Regions from separate parts of the Homo sapiens genome. Here region 1 is linked to region 2. Evidence: promoter capture Hi-C in human tissues and cell types (Jung and others, 2019). All regions are on one chromosome and are shown on one strand. The core of a region is centred on a gene start or on the middle of the fragment in contact, and the rest is flanking DNA. Distances in the headings are between cores, read along the strand shown.

The links. Contacts are between HindIII fragments. The study calls those that stand out against the background at their distance.
Region 1: a contact is called between a fragment that was not itself captured here and the fragment with the promoter of KCNK1 in region 2, in 1 of the 25 tissues and cell types used here (H1 embryonic stem cells).

What each region holds. Positions count from the first base shown.
Region 1 is chr1:233,888,566-233,891,977 of GRCh38, forward strand. No RefSeq gene overlaps it. Among named protein-coding and RNA genes, the nearest start is that of SLC35F3, 14 kb to the right of the region's middle. The HindIII fragment of the contact is 7,569 bases long and covers 1-3,412 here.
Region 2 is chr1:233,612,731-233,615,832 of GRCh38, forward strand. KCNK1 (potassium two pore domain channel subfamily K member 1) reads left to right here and starts at 1,376. Exons shown (of 3, transcript NM_002245.4): 1 at 1,376-1,796. The coding sequence starts at 1,442. RefSeq lists enhancers at 502-1,154, 2,343-2,402 and silencers at 943-1,042, 1,403-1,472, 1,813-1,872. The HindIII fragment of the contact is 20,351 bases long and covers 1-3,102 here.

The sequences.
Region 1 (3,412 bases), core at 806-3,305, 280 kb after region 2:
GTTCCCCTGCACAAGCTCTCTTGCCTGCTGCCATGTAAGACATGACTTTCCTCCTCATTCACCTTCCACCATGATTATGAGGCCTCCCCAGTCATGTGGAACTGTGAGTTCATTAAACCTATTTTTCTTTATAAATTACTCAGTCTTGGTATATCTTTATTAGCAGTGTAAGAACAGAATAATACAGTAGCCAACACAGAGGAATACTTTGAAACATGTAGCATTGTCTTTGCTACAATTATGTCACAGTCATATTTGAGGATATTGATCTTAACTGATCTGGTCAAATATTTGCAGAATCTGAGTAAAGACTTTGTTTTCTAATGCACATTGTGCAACATTAGAAATCTACTTTTCTTTCCATGATAGTGGTTAATCCACCAATAATATTTACTTAGTCATTGAGAATGGGAAGAGTTAGAAAAGATGAAAAACATGATGCCTAAATTAAAAGAGGCTGCCATTTATTGGGACATAATAAACAAAATGCAGTACGTGTGGGCATATATCTTGTATCAGTTCATTTTCACGCTGCTGATAAAGACATACCCGAGACTGGGTAATTTACACAGGAAAAAGCGTTTAATGGACTTACAGCTCCATATGGCTGGGGAGGCCTCACAATCATGGTGGAAGGCAAGGAGGAGCAAGCCACGTCTTACATGGATGGCAGAAGCCAAAGAGAGAGAGAGAGCTTGTGCAGGGGAAATCCTCTTATAAAACCATCAGATCTTGTGAGACTTATTCACTATCACGAGAACAGCATGAGAAAGACCTGCCCCCATAATTCAGTTACCTCCCACTAGGTCCCTCTCACAACACATGGAAATTCAACATGAGATTTGGGTGGGGACATTGCCAAATATATCATATCTCTATCTATCTATCTATCTATCTATCTATCTACCTACCTACCTATCATAACCCATATACCTTACATAAGATATCAGAGAAATATATCACAGCAACTATATTTTCTGACCCAAAAATTGTGACATATTATCTGACAAAGACCATACTCTTTGAAAACAATGGAACAGGGAATTTGAAATCACAACTGATTCAGAAAATTCAGGACAGTTGGTTGCTACACATACTGTCTGGGTTAAAGCCCCAGAGGAAATTGGCTGGGAGGACATTTGAAGTCTCCCCAATGCCAACCTTTTATGGAGAATTTAGTGTTAACCTAGAAGTGGATACTGACAATAGCAGATAGTCTAAATAAATTTTGTAAAGTTGCATGCAATTAATTCCTCACATAGCTTATTTTCCAATTACTGTCTCCCTCAGTTTTACTCGTTTCCTCATTTGTTTAACGAATAATTATTTTAGCAGAACCTACACAGGTATTACATCAGATATCAGAGTCACAATGAAAGCAAAAGAATTTTTGCCTCATATAATTTTTAGCCTAGTGTGGGAATCAGGCACTAACCAAATAACACTGTAACTTAATCTGTAATAATACTCTGAGAAGGGTTATAAAGGCAATTATAGAGTATCATAGGGTTATAAAGGGAAAACTTGGTCCAATTTGGGAAGGGTCAGGAAAGCCTTCCTGGAGAGAGGCAGTCTCAGCAGAAAATTCAAGGCAGGTGAAGGAGTTGACAAGGTATGGAGGTGGGAGGTGGAAGGCCTTCCCAGGCAGGGAGGGTGTCTTGTGCACTACCCAGAAGGCAAGAGAAAGTAAAGCACATTCCATGGGCTCCAAGAGGCTGGTATGGATAAAGAACAGCTACAGGGTGCAAGTCAGGAGGCAGCTCAGGAGAAGGATTGGGTCTTGATATGGTTTGGCTGTGTCCCCACCCAAATCTCATCTTGAATTGTAATTCCCATAATCCTCACAAGTCATGGGAGGGACCCAAAGGGAGGTAATTGAATCATGGGGGCAGTTACTCCCATGCTGCTGTTCTCATGATAGTGGTGAGTTCTCGTGAGATCTGATGGTTTTATAAGGGGTTTTCCCCCTTTTGCTAAGCACTTCTCCTTCCTGCCATCATGTGAAGAAGGACATGTTTGCTTCCCCTTCTACCATGATTGCAAGTTTCCTGAGGCCTCCCCAGCCCTGTGTAATTGTGAGTCACTTAAAGCTTTTTCCTTTATAAATTACCCAGTCTCGGGTATGTCTTTATTAGCAGCATGAGAACAGACTAATACAGTAAGTTGGTATCACAGAGAGTGGGGGTGCTGCTATAAGGATATCCAAAAATGTGGAAGTGACTCTGGAACTGGGTAACAGGCAGACGTTGGAACAGTTTGGATACTCAGAAGAAGACAGGAAAATGTGGAAAAGTTTGGAAATTTCTAGAGACTTGTTGAATGGTTTGACCAAAATATTGATCATGATATGGACAATGAAGTCCAGGCTGAGGTGTCTCAGAGGGAGATAAGGAACTTGTTGGGAACTGCAGCAGAGGTGACTCTTGTTATGCTTTAGCAGAGAGATTGGTGGCATTTTGCCCCTGCCCTAGAGATTTGTGGAACTTTGAACTTAAGTGAGATGATTTAGGGGAACTGGTGGAAGAAATTTCTAAGCAGCAAAGCATTCAAGAGGAAGCAGAATATAACAGTTTGGAAAATTTGCAGCCCAACGATACAGCAGAAAAGAAAAACTCATTTTCTGAGGATAAATTCAAGCCTAGTGCAGAAATTAGCATAACAAATGAGGAGCCAAATGTTAATCACCAAGACAATGGGGAAAATGTCTCCAGGGCATGTCAGAGGTCTTCACAGCAGCCCCTCCCATCACAGGCCCAGAGGCCTAGGGGGAAAAATGATTTTTGGACTGGTCCCAGGGCCCCTCTGCTGCTCTGTGCAGCCTTAGGACTTGGTGCCCTGTGTCCTATGTATAGCTAAAAGGGGCCAATGTACAGCTCAGGCCATTGCTTCAGAGGATGCAAGCCCAAGGCCTTGGCAGCTTCCACATATTGTTAAGCCTGTGGGTACGCAGAAGTCAAGAATTGAGGTTTGGAAACCACCACCTAGATTTCAGAGGATGTATAGAAACACCTGGATTTCCAGGCAGAAGTCTGCTGCAGGGGCAGAGCCTTCATTGAGAACCTCTGCTAGAGCAGTGCAGAAGGGAAATGTGCAATTGGAGTCCCCGCACAGAGTCTCCACTGTGGCACTGCCTGGTGGAGCTGTGAGAAGATGGCCATCATCCTGCAGACCCCAGAATGATAGATCCACTAACAGCTTGCAGCTTGCACCATGTGTCAGGAAAAGCCATAGGCACTCAACACCAGCTCATGAAAGCAGCATGGAGGGAGGCTGTACCCTGCAAAGCTACAGGGGCAGAGCTACCCAAGGCCATGGGAGCCCACCTCTTGCATCAGTGTGACCTGAATGTGAGACATGGAATCAAAGGAGATCATTTCGGAGCTTTAAGATTTGACTGCCCCACTGGATTTTG
Region 2 (3,102 bases), core at 126-2,625:
CTGCAAGGAGATAGTTTTATTCCTATGCAGTTGATTAATAATGCAGATGTCATTTTATTTTGTAACAAAATACAAATATTTTACATATTTGAGATTCTACACAGTTTTGCTTCAATAGTCTTTAGACACAACTTTAATGTGTTTAATGTCTATATGGTGTCCATGCTGTAGAGATGCCATAACTTATTTAACCATTCTCTATTTTGGAATATTTAGATTGTTCTGAGTCTTCATTATTTCATCTATACCGTGTGTGTGTGTGTGTGTGTGTGTGTGTCCCACATGTGTATGCACTATATTATACAACTACATGTATGTATATATAGATACCGTCTATGACCAGTCTTTGTAAGTAAGTGCCTCTCTGATTGTTTTTTCTTAGGACATATCACTGAATCAGAACAAATAAACCCTTTCAAGGTTCTTGAGACGTGTCGCTAAATTGCCTTTCCAGAAAGGGTGTACCAATTTTTATTTTCATCCACAAGCAGGCGGCTCGCTGACCCTCGCCCACATTTTTGTCACTTTAAAAAGAAGTGACAGTTGGGAAAGCTCAGTTTCTTCTGGCAGTTGACACATTTGGGATGTTTTTTCACCAAAAAACCTAAGGTCATGTTTTAGAAAATTCGAACTCAGAAATAGGACTTCTCTGAGACTCTCCTTTTCCCTCAAGTCCTTTTTGTGAGGGGGATGGGTGGGAGAGAGGAGACTGATTCAAGGAGCCTTCCAACTCTGATGTTCTGGTATTTTCACCGTCATTACTGGCACCAGATTGCTCAATCCTTCGACCAATAAGACAAAGAAGGAAAGTACTTCAGCGCTTGCTGTTTTGTAATACTGGCTTTGATTGGGAGAAAATAAGTGGGAAACAAGAGTAGCTTGGACAGGGGGCTTGGACGGCCAGCGCATTGACCAGAAGCGGCCCACACTACACGCGCGCGAACACACACACACACACACGCACACGCCGCGCGCGGTCAGCTAGAGTTTGGCTACTGGACCCAGGAAGGGAGGGAGCGGGAGGAGCTGGTGGCTGTCGGGTCGGGGTCTGGGCGCCACCGAGCGCCCGCCCCACCTCTGGAGTGCGCAGAAGGCGGTGCGTCCCGGGCCCCGGCAGCCCAGCCCAGGCGCTCTGGCCAAGTTTGCGCGCGGTCTCCGCTGACTCTCGGGTTACCTGAGCCGGCAACCACGTCAGCGCCACATCATCTGGGCTTTTTATATTGCAAGGAAACAGGAAAAGAAGGAAGAAAAACATCGCCCGAGAGAGCCAATCGCAGGAAGACGGCGCTGCCCGGAGGAGCGGGGCGGGCGGGCGCGCGGGGGAGCGGGCGGCGGGCGGGAGCCAGGCCCGGGCGGGGGCGGGGGCGGCGGGGCCAGAAGAGGCGGCGGGCCGCGCTCCGGCCGGTCTGCGGCGTTGGCCTTGGCGGCGGCGGTGGAGAAGATGCTGCAGTCCCTGGCCGGCAGCTCGTGCGTGCGCCTGGTGGAGCGGCACCGCTCGGCCTGGTGCTTCGGCTTCCTGGTGCTGGGCTACTTGCTCTACCTGGTCTTCGGCGCAGTGGTCTTCTCCTCGGTGGAGCTGCCCTATGAGGACCTGCTGCGCCAGGAGCTGCGCAAGCTGAAGCGACGCTTCTTGGAGGAGCACGAGTGCCTGTCTGAGCAGCAGCTGGAGCAGTTCCTGGGCCGGGTGCTGGAGGCCAGCAACTACGGCGTGTCGGTGCTCAGCAACGCCTCGGGCAACTGGAACTGGGACTTCACCTCCGCGCTCTTCTTCGCCAGCACCGTGCTCTCCACCACAGGTAGGGTATCCTGCGCGCCCCCTGGCCGCCCCGGCCACCTCGCCCACAACCCACACACCCCGGCCCCGGCGCCCCGGGCCCCTCTAACCCTCCCACCCCACCCCCCACCTTTCGCCATCCCGGCTCCTCCAGCCCGCCTCCCCTCACTGTCCTCCCGACCCTCCGACCTTCCCCTTACTGGCGTCCCCGGCCTCTGCCTGGGTGACTCGGGAGGGCAAGCCCTGCGGAGCCGGAAGCCAGAGAGGTGACTCCAGACGTGACTTGGTTGTTGCCGTCCGTAACTCTGGGGAAGTGGTCCCTAACTTCGGCCTGGGTGGCTGCAGGTGCTTCCTCCCCTTGAGTTCTTTTTTCGCAACCCACTAAGCCAAACTGTCGGGTTTGAATGTGTAGCAGCACCTGGCCGCCGTGCGGCAAGGCAGCGGGATGATGGAAACTCACCACCTTCCTCCCGCACCCATCCCAGAGGCCGAGGCTGCAGTCTGGTAATAATACCTTCTAAAGGGTCACCTTCCGGAGTGTGCCGTCCCTTTGGACCATGCACAGATATTCCAGCTCTTTTGTACCTTGGAGGCAGTTTTGGGGGTAGCCGAGTGACATCACTCTGCTCTTCCCAGGTGACCTCTGGGCGGACAGGCCGATCCGGTTTCTTTTCAGAGTAGGAGGAAGGGTGAGGGAGAGTAAAGGAACCATAGGATTGCCTAAGATCTGACTTAATTGGGGCACCCTGATTCAGCAGTTCCTTCAACTTGAGGTGTGCGAGGCTCCCCATAAACTTCGAAGCGCCACGTCCCCGTACGACTCACCCGCGGGGCGCCCGGCCATGGAGGAGCCTCCTCAGGTGAAAGATGAGGCCGGGCGCATGCCCCAGGGCTCGGTCACTGTGCCAGATCAGATGAATGAAGGCCGAATTTCCCCAGCCGGACCTAGTAAGGCACATACCCAGAGTGGAGATATCAATTGGTATTTGGACAGTGGGAGGAATCTGAAAGAGCGTTCAGCACAGTCCCTTCTTTTGATCTATGAGATCCAATCTTTGAAATAATCCATCTCGTCATGCACAAGGTCACACACTTCCTAGTTACCAGTGTCGTCCTGGAACCTGGGCCTTGTGATTTCTCTGCCAGGACCACTTTGTAACCCCCCACCCTCAACCTTTACAGGTGAATCACATCCCTTTGTGTGACTCCCAACTCTTCCTTCCTCCCCACCCCCCTCCACCACCCAAATTATTGTGTATAATTCCCTTTGGGCTATATCTTGTTGACTATCTTGGTAATTACTTGGTAATGAGTAATAATACACTATT